Regions from separate parts of the Homo sapiens genome. Here region 2 is linked to region 1. The links are contacts of gene promoters, found by promoter capture Hi-C in blood cells and fetal thymus (Javierre and others, 2016). All regions are on one chromosome and are shown on one strand. Each heading gives the region's core, a stretch centred on a gene start or on the middle of the fragment in contact. The rest is flanking DNA. Distances are from core to core; before and after follow the strand shown.

Evidence for each region. The method cuts DNA at HindIII sites, captures the fragments that hold promoters and counts their contacts. A CHiCAGO score of 5 or more calls a contact.
Region 2: a contact is called between a fragment that was not itself captured here and the fragment with the promoter of RHOB in region 1, in 1 of 17 cell types (neutrophils). The highest score is 5.2, in neutrophils.

What each region holds. Positions count from the first base shown.
Region 1 is chr2:20,443,529-20,450,079 of GRCh38, reverse strand. It overlaps RHOB (ras homolog family member B), which reads right to left and starts at 3,006. Exons shown (of 1, transcript NM_004040.4): 1 at 640-3,006. The coding sequence starts at 2,614. The coding sequence ends at 2,024. RefSeq lists silencers at 2,588-2,797, 3,048-3,297. The HindIII fragment of the contact is 3,675 bases long and covers 63-3,737 here.
Region 2 is chr2:20,040,710-20,047,260 of GRCh38, reverse strand. It overlaps LAPTM4A (lysosomal protein transmembrane 4 alpha), which reads left to right. Exons shown (of 7, transcript NM_014713.5): 2 at 6,250-6,370. Among named protein-coding and RNA genes, the nearest start is that of LAPTM4A, 7.6 kb to the left of the region's middle. The HindIII fragment of the contact is 940 bases long and covers 2,465-3,404 here.

The DNA of each region.
Region 1 (6,551 bases), core at 1,757-4,256:
TCTCTGAACTTAGAATAAATCATTCTAGGTTACTTAATAAAGGACATATTGGGATCAAAGCTTGATAATTTTAAAAAATCACCTCTTTATCTGAACTCCCCCACTTCTGGAAGCTCCAGGCCCAAAGATAACAACCTACAACTTCCTGGGATATTGTGTAAACCCCTTGATGGCCTGAAGGGAACCCAGTAAACAGGCTTCCTGATAGCGTGACCCCACACCAACGATTAATAAAGGTTTTCTAAATTTAAAATGCACAAATGATAACTTTCCAAGACTCAAAGAATAAGCAAAGCCCCATAATAGACTTAAAGACACAAGTGTTTTTAAGACACACAGATGAATGAAATCAAGATCTTCGGTCTCACCCAATTGAACTGAGTACATAATAGGTCAAAAGTTTTTGCACTGGGTGTCGGGGTATCCACTCATCTTCCTCTAGGAATGTGACAGGAACAACCTGGTCTCCCTTGGTCACCCAACCCCCACATGCTCTCAAAGGGACTTCATCCTCATTTACTACATTTGCTATAAGGGAAACGGAGTTGGCAAGAAAGGATCTCGCCTAGGAGAATATCTCCCTTGTTCCAAATTCACAAGGGTATTTTTACACACTATTAAACCACAAGAGCCATTTTATAAATGTCATCATCATAGTCTTTTAATATTTTACATAAAAAACTGTATACACAGCTTATAGAACTTTTATGTAAACATCATAAGCTCACCATTTTGTCATTTGTCAGTTTATTTAAAAAATAAAAAACAAGACAACAATTTAGTAGAAGTACCACTGGGAGGGAGGGGAGGGGAAAAAAGGATATACAGGGGCAGGTGTATTCTCTGTACAGAGGTGCAGAGAAAATTTCACATAGCTTTAGAGAATGCCTTGTGGAAAAAAAAAAAATAGGCCCCAATACTTGTTACTGCCCTTTATCAAAACTGTGTGCATGACCTGCACAAATAAAATCACAAAACAGTGTTGCCACATTCTTCAAGGAAACAAAGCAAAATTTAGTGGGTTTCTTTTCCCTCTCCTTGTTAAAAGTCATTTTTTAAAAACATCAGAAGTAGATGAGGTTACAGCGTACAAGTGTGGTCAGAATGCTACTGTCGTATGCAAATGACGAGTGCATTAAGTGTCAAACAATGAAACAATTGTGCAAAGAATAAAAAAACAAATTTTAGCCTTTAAATAAATCAAATAACATCAGTTTCTTGGACTGAACAATTTTCACTTCTAGGACAGGCACAAAGTTCGCTTATGGCAAAAACAACCCCACAGCGCATCCTCCCTCCTCCCTCCGGTAGCTGGTGGAGGGTTCGCAGCGGGCTGGCCCGCAGGAGAGGCTGTGCTGAAGCTGTGTCCTCCCCAAGTCAGTTGCAAATGTCTTCCCCAGGGGTTGGAAAGATGGTCAAGTCCTGTTCATGCTTGGGCGGGAGTCTGGCCCAGCCTGGGCCAGAGCGCTCACCCATCACCACCCTTAAATAACACCATCTTAGCTCCGAAAATAAAATTATATCTATATTTATATAACATCCCCCCATCCTCCCCAGCAGCCCTCCCCTCCCGCAGTACCCGGGGTCTATGTTACAGACAAGGGATATCAAGCTCCCGCTGGTGAAGGGCGAACATCTGATGGGGCGCGGCCACACTCCCGCGCCAATCTCGCCCCCGGGGATCAGAGGCGGGGGTGGGGTGAAAATGGGGCGAGGGGAGTCGAACAGACACACAGCCACACACTCTGAGGCCCGGCTCTTCAGAAAAGCATGCTCAGGGGACCCTTGGCACTCAGTGGGGAGCCCAGGCCTGTGCAACACAGCTGGACGCACACAGACACTGGGATGGGGGCGCCCGGTGCCCACGCCAAGTCCTGGCGCAAGCCAGAGGCGTCAGCAGACAGATGCCAGGCAGGCCGGTGGGGTCCTTGTGGGACACGGGTCTCCCCTTCTCCGGGCTCGCGGGGGACTGGTCCAGGAGGGGGAGCCGTGCCGGCAGGGGCAGGCGCGACGGGCGCGGCCCTCATAGCACCTTGCAGCAGTTGATGCAGCCGTTCTGGGAGCCGTAGCGCTTCTGCAGCGCGGCGCGCGTGGCCGTCTCGAAGACCTCGCGCACGCCTTCCTTGGTCTTGGCAGAGCACTCGAGGTAGTCGTAGGCTTGGATGCGCACGGCCATGGCGCGGCCGTCATCCGTGCGCACGGGTTCCTGCTTCATGCGGGCCAGCTCTGTGCGGACATGCTCGTCGCTGCGCAGGTCTTTTTTGTTGGCCACCAGGATGATGGGCACATTGGGACAGAAGTGCTTCACCTCGGGGACCCACTTCTCGGGGATGTTCTCCAGCGAGTCCGGGCTGTCCACCGAGAAGCACATGAGAATGACGTCGGTGTCCGGGTAGGAGAGCGGCCGCAGGCGGTCGTAGTCCTCCTGGCCCGCCGTGTCCCACAGCGCCAGCTCCACCTGCTTGCCGTCCACCTCAATGTCGGCCACATAGTTCTCGAAGACGGTGGGCACGTACACCTCGGGGAACTCGTCCTTACTGAACACGATCAGCAGGCACGTCTTGCCACACGCGCCGTCGCCCACCACCACCAGCTTCTTGCGGATGGCCGCCATGAGCGGGCCGGGCCCGGGCAGCAGGAGGGGGCCCGCGAACGCCTCGCTGCCCTCCCGCTCGCCGCTCACTGCTCACCTCGGGCTGCGCGCAGGTGGCGAGAGGGTCGCTAGCTGCACCCGGGCCCCGCGGTGGCGCGTTCTCTCGCTGCGCTTCGGCTGCCGCGGCGGGGGCGGTGGGGGCGCGGGGGCATAGGGCGCACCGTGCGTCTCGCCGCGCTGCTCCCGGGCGGTGGTCGCTCTGCTCACCCCAGGCCGGGGATCGGCGGCTTTGTGCGTAACGCGGGCTCGGGCAGCAGACTCGGGCGGTGGACTCGGCCTAGCTCTCTCCCGGGTCTCTCCGGGCCTCGCTGAGCATACAAGACAACAGCTCCAACCAGACTGCGGTGGCAGATGAGGGCTGCGGCCCTAGCGCCCGCTATTTAAAGAGTCCGGCCACTTTCTTAATATAGCCGTCCAATGGGAAACCAGCCGGCTGAGCTCATCGCTGCGGAGCTTAGCTCTGATTGGCCGCCCCCTGCAGCCCGAGGGCGGGGCAGGGCCAGCTTGATTGACGGCCCAGGCCGCCGGGCTGGGAGAGGCAGCGACCGGGGAGTCCGCGCTGCTGCTGCCGCTGCGGGGCTCTGGCGGTACCCGGGTCCCCTCCTTCGCCGCAGCGTTTGCGCGCGGGGTCCGGGAGCTGGCTGTCTGGAGCCTCCAGGGTCTGGGCGAGCGGTTCCGAGACAGGCTTCACTCAGTGGGGCGTTGGCGACTCCCATTCAGAATTGCCCCTCTTCCTGGCAAACTCCCGGCGGGTGGTCGGGCCTGTGGGGGAGGGGCAGCTCTTTTAACGTGGTTTTGTTTTTAAATAAACAGACACACACACACACACACACACACACACACCCCACACACACACTTTTGTTCCCAAACAAGAGTGTTTTCTCTTTTCTTTTGGAGGTGGCCCCTCCTGTGGTTTAGGGCCCCACCCGGGTACTCGCCGTGGGCCAGCCTCGGGTTTGGACCCGAGAGGCGACCGGCTGGCTGCAAACTGGCTCTTCCAAGTCCCGCCGCCCCTACCCTTCCCAACCCCCAGCTTAGGTCTCTAGGTGAAGATTAAGGGAAGAGGTGCGGAGTGGCCCAAGCTTGACAACGGAAAGGGAAGGTCGAGGCTCGAACACTTGGAGGAAGTTACCGGACAGGAAGAAGCCCCTTCGGCCCCTCTTTTCACTATGAACTCTGATCCCGGTTCTTAAAACAGAGAACTGTCTGAGATAAATTGTACAATAGAATATACACTATTGTACAATAGAATGTACAATAGAATATACACTATTGTACAATAGAATGTACAATAGAATATACACTATTGTACAATAGAATGTACAATAGAATATACACTTGTACAATAGAATGTACAATAGAATATACACTATTGTACAATAGAATGTACAATAGAATATACACTATTGTACAATAGAATGTACAATAGAATATACACTATTGTACAATAGAATGTACAATAGAATATACACTATTGTACAATAGAATGTACAATAGAATATACACTATTGTACAATAGAACGTACAATATTCCGGGTTCAATAGAATCCAACCACCCCAAGACCCCTGAGCAGACGAAAAGGCTTGAGGCTGGAGAAGAGGGGAGGAGTAAGGGGCTAGCAAATGGGGCACAGCGGGTTAGGGGGTGTCCCCTCTATTGGGGCGTAGCCTCCTGATGCACGCCAGGACTGAACTCATTTATCCTGTAGATCCTGCATGAAATGACAGTACCGGTGATCCGGAAAGACCCAAGTCAACCGATTTCTACGGATAAAAGAGGAAGAAGGGGATAGGGGGAAAGGGGAGTCGGGGAGGGCTCCCGGGCAGGAGAAACAGCCTGAACACAAGCAGGAAGGTGGGAAGGAGCGGGGCAAACTCTAGGAGCTGCATATGCTGGGGCTCATGAGTGCTAAAGTATTAACAGCATGGGCTGGGCTCTGTCTATCCATTGCATGGGAAATGTCTGCAAACTGTTTTTTCAGCAAAGGAGGGACCCACCACATGACCGGGAGGTGGTTGCCTCCTGTCTCCGTCTCTGTCTCGGTCTCTGTCAGTTGTTGGAGGGCCAGGATTCTGTCTTATCTCCGCATCTTGAAGACCCAGCACAATGCCTGGCATTTACAAGGATCAGTAAATGACTGTGGGGAATTAACCCGAATGCTCAGAAACGCAGGTGGAATTTTCTGGGGGTTTCTTACCTCAGTTCCACACTTCGCTTTAACAATTATCTAACCAGGCCGGGCACAGTACCTCATGCCTGTGATCCCTGGGCGTGGGAGGCCCAGGCTGGAGAATTGTTTGAGCTCAGGAGTTCAAGACCAGCCTGGGTAACATGACAAAACCCCGTCCCTGTCCCTGAGAAAAATAAAATGGGATGGCGTGGGGAGGAGAGTGGCCTGCACCTATAATCTCAACTACTCAGGAGGCTGAGGTGGGAGGATTGCTTGAGCCCAGGAGGGCAAGGCTGCAGTGAGCTATGATCACAACACCCCACTCCAGCCTGGGTGACAGAATGAGACCCTGGCTCAAAAGAAAAAAAAAAAGTAAACATTAAAAAGAAAATCATTAAGCAAACCCATGCAGCCAACTGTGACTGAACCCCGGTGTTTTCACATGTAATTCATATGTTAAGAGCTAGGTCCCCATATGGCTCCACAGATGAAATCAGATCAAATAAGGCAGTAGTGCTGCTAAGCCTAGAGCCCTTCCTAGAGGGAACGTCTTATTTAGACGACTGGAAGTGCTGTGCTTCCCTCAGACTGGATTCACATCACTACAACAACCGGCCAACCAGCTTTTTTTTGTTGTTGTTGGCCGGGGCGGTGGGGGGCGGGGGTTTGTTTTTCAGATCTAAGGAACTGATCTGTCAGCAAGTAAATAGTTTTTCTGTTCATTGATTTAAGGATGCAATCTGGAAGCTTTTTTTTTTTCCTATTAGAAAAGTCTTATTTACACAAATTTTTCTTCTTTTAGTCAAAACCTTTTATAGCTGTATTGTTAACGCCGCTTTCCTTGGTCTTAATATAGCTTGGGAAACTTGGCTATGTCCTTAAACTTCAAATACCAAGAAATATGAAACAAAGCTTTGTACCATGTGTTTTTTTCTTTAAAAAACAAAGAATCCGGAAAACGGATTGAACTCCTTCGTGTTCTGATTTCCAGGAATATTATATGAGGTGTTCCAAGCTCAAATCTCAATATTGCAATAATTTCTAAAACTATGCAGTTGGTAAAAATGCCAAAGTAAACAAATAGATCTGTGTTCTGCAGTAACTTCTTTAGTAACTTCTTTTCATGGTATTTTTTTTTTTTTAGTCCAGGATACTTTGACAAGCTCTGCAGAGACTGGCTGCTTCCAAGACTGCCCCACACACAGGATAAACTTTTCCCAACTAGGTGATATGCCGGACAAGCCCCTCCCTGTCCCTTGCCCTTCATAATACACTTCCTCAGACAGGGATAAAATTTGATTCTTCTATGAGAACAAGTCATTTTATTTTATTTTATTTTTTGAGACAGAGTCCTACTCTGTCACCCAGGCTGGAGTGCAGTGGTATGATCTTGGCTCACTGTAACCTCGGCCTCCTGGGTTCAAGCAGTTCTCCTGCCTCAGACCCCCGAGTAGCTGGGATTACAGGCGTGTGACACCATGCCTGGCTAATTTTTGTATTTTCAGTACACAGGGTTTTCCCTTGTTGGCCAGGCTGGTCTCAAATTCCTGACTTCAAGTGATCCACCCACTTAGACCTCCCCAAGTGCTGGGATTACAGGCGTGAGCCACCGCCACCAGCCAAGAACAAGTCATGTTAACAATTAACTTTATTAACATATTCATCTTATGACATAATATATCCACACCTGTGAGACAGGGAAGTTGTATTTCAGACAAAAGGAGGAT
Region 2 (6,551 bases), core at 1,685-4,184, 400 kb after region 1:
ACCCGCCACCATGTCGGGCTAATTTTTTGTATTTTAGTAGAGACGGGGTTTCACCGTGTTGGCCGGGATTGTCTCGATCTCCTGACCTCATGATCTGCCTGCCTTGGCCTCCCAAAGTGCTGGGATTACAGGCGTGAGCTACCATGCCCAGCCAAGCTTTCTTTACTTCCTAGCCAGGGGGATCTGTTTTTCTCACGGTGCACCTGCAAAAGTTTCTGGATCCTTCTTGTATGTACTTATTAAATAGTACTCAGTACACATTGGTAGGATTGTCCTTTTCTCTTATTTTTCTCTCTACAGCAAGATGTTCTCCTGGAGGGAAGAGGGTGATGTCTTTATAAGGGCAGTGGCTCACGCCTGTAATCCCAGCATTTTGGGAGGCCAAGGCAGGTGGATTGCCCAGGAGTTCGAGACCAGCCTGAGCAACATGACGAAACCCCCTCTCTACCAAAAAAAAATATATATTATATTATATATATATTTATATATTATATTATATATATATTTATATAATATATATTTATATATAGATATATAATATATAAATATATATAAAACATATAAAAATATATATACACACACACATACATACATATATATATTAGCGGGGCATGGTGTGGTGGTGCATGCCTGTAGTCCCAGCTACAGGGGAGGCTGAAGTGGGAGGATCACTTGAGCCGGGGAGGCAGAGGTTGCAGTGAGCCTAGATCGCAGTAACTACTCTCCATCCTGGGTGACAGAATGAGACCCTGTCTCAAAATAAAATGTGTGTGATGGCTAACTTATTAATTAAAACATTTGAGGTGTTCATTACACATTTGTTGAATGAATGTCTCCTCCAAAAAATATTGTGAATACTCAGTTGTATCTGCATGTAACAGTAAACAACAACAAAAAACTTTTTTTTTTTAAATTATACTGTAAGTTCTAGGGTACATGTCCACAGCGTGCAGGTTTGTTGCATAGGTATACATGTGCCATGTTGGTTTGCTGCACCCATCAACTCATCATTTACATTAGTTATTTCTCCTAATGCTATCCCTCCCCCAGCCCGCCACCCGCTGACAGGCCCTGGTGTAGGTGTGTGATGTTCCCCACCCTGTGTCCAAGTGTTCTCATTGTTCAGTTCCCACCTATGAGTGAGAACATGCGGTGTTTGGTTTTCTGTCCTTGTAATAGTTTGCTGAGAATGATGGTTTCCAGCTTCATCCATGTCCCTGCAAAGGACATGAACTAATCCTTTTTTATGGCTAAAAAACGTTTTAAAGATAGTCAATTTTGATCTTTATCAGATAACAGGCTTTGCTTAGTTCTGTAGATTGACCCTCCTGTGGGTGCTTTCTCTGCATGGGAAGCCCTTATCTGGATGCCTCCTTAAACCAGACACACTGTTTTAATTATTATCTCAGTAGATACTGGCTCTGGGCAAATTACTGTGGGAAAACTGAAAAATGATTTTTTTTTTAAAGTCTCCAGAGAATCTTCTGGAATAGGTGTGGCAGTGAAAGAAGAAAACAAAGAATTCCTCTCTTCAGGCCCTGTGCTTCCATGGATCTGATACAGTTATTTTGTAACAAGTCAAATCTAACAGATTTCTTATTGTACACACTTACATAAGATGTAGAAGCTTTCAAAAACAATGCACACCACCTGATTTGACTGATTAAATTTACAGTACTGTTAACACATTGAGTGGTGAATCCGCAGCCCATGCTGCTAAAATATTGCTGCATTCTATACCTCTCCATATTGCCAAGTTTAGAAGTTAATAATTTAATCTTTTTTTTTTTTTTTTAAAGAGATGGGGTCTTGCTATGTTGCCTGTGCTGGTGTGCAATGGCATGATTATAGCACACTGCAGCCTTGAACTGGGCTCAAACAATCCTCCCACCTCAGGCACCTGACCAGCTGGGACTACAGGCACACACCACTGTCCCCAGCTTAATCATTCTTTTTAAATTACATTTTTATTAACTTTCTTTCCTGAATACAGTGAAAGGAAAAAGTGAATCAGGAATAAATATTTGTAATAGTTAGTACATAGTTGGATATTTTCAGAGAAATTTTGTATTGTAAGATTACAGTTAATTTTATGTATTTTTTGAAAAGCTAAACATGTAATTTAGAAATATCAACTTTAATCAGAGATAAGTTGCCAGGGCTTACATGTGAGCACAAGGTAGGCGTTCGTTGGTGAATATCTTTAAGATCAAAGGATGCCAGGAGCGGTGGCTCGTGCCTGTCATCCTAGCACTTTAGGAGGCCAATGCAGTAGGATCACTTGAGGCCAGGAGTTCAAGACCAGACTGGACAACATAGTGAGACTCCATCTCTACAAAAAAAATTTTTTTAAGTCACAAGGATGGGTTTTCCAGTGTAATACTTTAAGATGTAAGTTGGGGTTCTAATGAAATGATGTGATCTAATGGAATATAATTAACTCAAAGAAGATTTGGAAAAAGCTTTTAATGAAGTAGCATTGAAATTTATTTCACTGTTTCTTGGTCCTTCTGATTGGCCCTACGATTTATTTTGTTTAATATTTAGTGGTATGACCCACAGTGAAATTAAACTTGAAGTGTCTCTAGTACTAAAAGAAGATAATAGTGGATGAGCGTGTGACTTATCCATGGAAGAGAAGAAAAGTGAAGAGTTCTTTTGTTTTTTAAGAGACAGACTTAGTATTGTTGCCTAGGCTGGTCTCCAGAGCTCAGGCGATCCTTCCCACCTCAGCCTCCCAAGTAGCTGGGACTATAGGTGTGAGATTTTTAGAAATCCTTCATGTAATAAAAATATTTAAGAAGGGAAAATAGAACTCCTAAATGTTTTTGGCATGTCATTCCCTTCATTTAGTAATTGGGTTTGCATGCTTTTCTTGACAAAGGAATTTCTGTACCGCAGAGAGCTTTTTCACTGTGACTATGCTGTGTTTAGCAAAGAAGAGTTTGCCTAATTGATTTCAAACTGATTTCCATACACAGAACATATAACGTTTTAGTAGATATATCTGATAGTTCAGTAATTAATTCACCTAGTTGTATTAGCTCATACTCATACACCACACACGCTGGCCAAAACCCATTGCAGCAAATGTGGGCAACAAAAAAAATCAGCTTTCAACTGGGGAGAGCCACCTTGCAAAAGTGATTGTTCCTGGTAAGTCCTCTCAAGAATTGAAAGATATCATGCCTTGCCTCTGAACAATGCAAGGAAAGAGGCTTGCTGCTGAACATAGACAGTAAAGTCTAAACATTTTATAGCCTTAGATAATGGTTTCTTTGGGAAAGACCTTAAAATAGGAGTTACTGGGGAATGTTTATTAATAATCACGTAGTGCTGAGAAGGAGGATGTCTTAAAAACCAGACTTGTGTCCTGATTCTCCCATCTGTCAGCTCAGCAAGCTTAACACAAGTTATATAGCTTTACTGAATCTTAAGTTTCCCCATCTACACATAGGCTTTGGTAATACTTACTTCACGGGTTGTTGTGAGGAATAAGTGAAGTAATACACGTAAATACACATGTCATAAAGCATATCCTCAATAAATATTGGTTGATTCCAAATTTCATATTGTGGCATTGTTTAGATCACCTACCCTAAAATAAAACTTGATCTGCTTATCTAGCGGATGTTAGTGAAATGACTTCAGCTGATAAAAGGAAAATGCATTTCCTGTGTGTTTATCATTCAAGGTGAAACAGGAGAGAAGTATATAATAGTTTGTTTAAAATACTATCGATAGCTGGCCGACACAGTGGCTCACACCTGTAATCCCAGCACTTTGGGAGGCCAAGGCTGGTGGATCACTTGAGGTCAGGAGTTTGAGACCAGCCTGGCCAACGTGGCGAAACCCCACCTCTACTAAAAATACAAAAATTAGCCAGGCTTGAATGGTGCACGCCTGTAGTCCCAGCTACTCGGGAGGCTGAGGTGTGAGAATGGCCTGAACCCAAGAGGTGGAAGCTGCAGTAAGCCGAGATCGTGCCACTGCACTCCAGCCTGGGTGACAGAGCGAGGCTTGGTCTCAAAAAAAAAAAAAAAAAAAAAGGTCCCAGCTACTTGGGAGGCTGAGGTGTGAGAATTGCTTGAACCCAAGAGGTGGAAGCTGCAGTGAGCTGAGATTGCGCCACTGCACTCCAGCTTGGGTGACAGAGCAAGGCTTGGTCTCAAAAAAAAAAAAAGTCCCAGCTACCCCGGGGACTGAGGCAGGAGAATCGCTTGAACCCAGGAGGTGGAGGCTGCAGTGAGCCGAGATTGCGCTACTGCACTCCAGCCTGGGCGACAGAGCGAGACTCCATCTCAAAAACTAAATAAATTAAAATACTACTGATAGGAACTTAACCCTTGAAAATTCCAGATGTTCACATTTTCACAAAGGGAAGGAGGGCAAATTCTGTGAACTTTACTATGCTAGATAAGGAAGCCTAACTCCAATCCTACGTGAGATTTCTGTCTTGAGTCGTTAACAATACTCTTTCTGAGTACTTAAATGCAGTGAAGCCTCCTGGGATACCACAGGGATTGGCCAACAACTACAGGCACAACTCATTTCCTTTTAAAATGGATTTACAACCCTGGGAGACTAGGAAAATTCAGATATTATAATGGGATTTCAGCAGGCTGTTCCTCTAAAGAGCTAAACAATTTTATTCAGAAGTTGCTAGTTAATGGGAAGGGGCAGCCTCTGGCAGCTTTGTCCTCACCTCTGTTCTCTTTTGTTAGTAACTTAGATGGAAATACTGATTACATGCTGATCCTAAATTCAGGAAGTTGAGACAGTAAATCTGTAGTGTGTCAGAATCCACATCCAGAAAATCTTCATAGGCAAGAATGTAATAAGATGAAACTCAATTACAGGTATATTAAGGCCTATGCTTGGGCCTCTGAATCCAACTGTACAGGTGGGAGCTTAGCACAATCAAGTGTGAAAAAGAACTTGGTGTTTTAGGGAGTTACTCTCATGTGATATTCAGAAAATTTGTAAAGCCAATGCAGGCTGGGTGCGGTGGCTCATGCCTGTAATCACAGCATGTTGGGAGGCTAAAGCAGGAGGATCACTTGAGGCCAAGAGTTCAAGACCAGCCTAGGCAATATGGTGAGACCTTGTTTCTAACAAAAACAAAAAACCTCAGTACAACTTCAGGTTGCATTAATTGAAATTCGTTAGCCAGAATATGAGAACTGAGATCCCATTATGTTCTGACCAGGGTGACTTTACCTCATTTTAATATATGTCCATCAAACTGGAGCATGTGTAAAGAGGAAGACAAAAGGGAAATAGGTAGCTAGGAAACATGCTAGTCAGAGGAATGGCTTAAAGATCTGCATGTCTATTCTAGAGAACACAGTATTTGGAGGCTGTTTTCAGGTATTGGAGCACTTATTTAGAAGGGAGAGCACATTATCTCAAAAGGTAGATTTAAGGCCGGGCGTGGTGGCTCACGCCTGTAATACCAACACTTTGGGAGGCTAGGGCTGGGTGTATCACTTGAGGTCAGGAATTAGAGACCAGCCTGGCCAACATAGTGAAACCCCGTCTCTACTAAAAATACAAAAATCACCCGCGTATGGTCGTGGGCACCTGTAATCCCAGCTACCAGGTGGCTGAGGTGGGAGGATCACATGAGCCTAGGAAGGGGAGGCTTCAGTGAGCTGAGATTGCACCACTGCACTCCACCCTGGGCAATAGAGTGAGACTCCATATCACACACACGCACACATACACATACACACACACACACAAAAGTAAGACTAGTAGATAAGTGACTTTCAGTATCTTGGTAAGTCTCTTAAGCATTTGAGTCTAGCTCTAGAGGAAATAGTGAGTTCTCTGTCACCTGATGAGAGATGCTGTGGAGGGGTTTCGGGCATCTGATGAATAAATATAACAGATGAACAGTAACTTCTTCAAATCCAGAAATTCTGAGATTGGTATATGAATAAATAGGTAGCTTCGAACATGAACCATTTGTAATGATTCTTTAGTTTTAATTTTTTTCTGGTGTATTGGTTAAGCATCTTATCTCTCAAATGGTTAATATTACTTATACTTTATAAAATATTTATTTTTAAATTATTCTCATAGTGGTAATTGCGTATTGTTTTATCTCACAGGTAGTCTCCCACTATTTTATATCTTTGTTACTTCAAGTAAGACAATCTTAAATATGAGAGGACATCTAGAGATTGTGCTAAGATTGCGTCGTGATGGTAATTAATGTAACTGATAGAATGTTATCTTTTCCAGGTAGTAAACCTATTGATGGCAATTTTGCTGACTGTGGAAGTGACTCATCCAAACTCCATGCCAGCTGTCAACATTCAGTATGAAGTCATCGGTAATTACTATTCGTCTGAGAGAATGGCTGGTATGTGTTTAATAGAAAAACAAAAAAATCTCCCCTGCTAATTTTTATATACAGTCCTGTGTTGTTTAATGATGGGGACACATTCTGAGAAATGTCACTGGGTGATATTGTTGTGTGAACATCATAGGGTGTACTTACACAAACCTAGATAGCGTAGCCTACTATACACCTAGGCGATGTG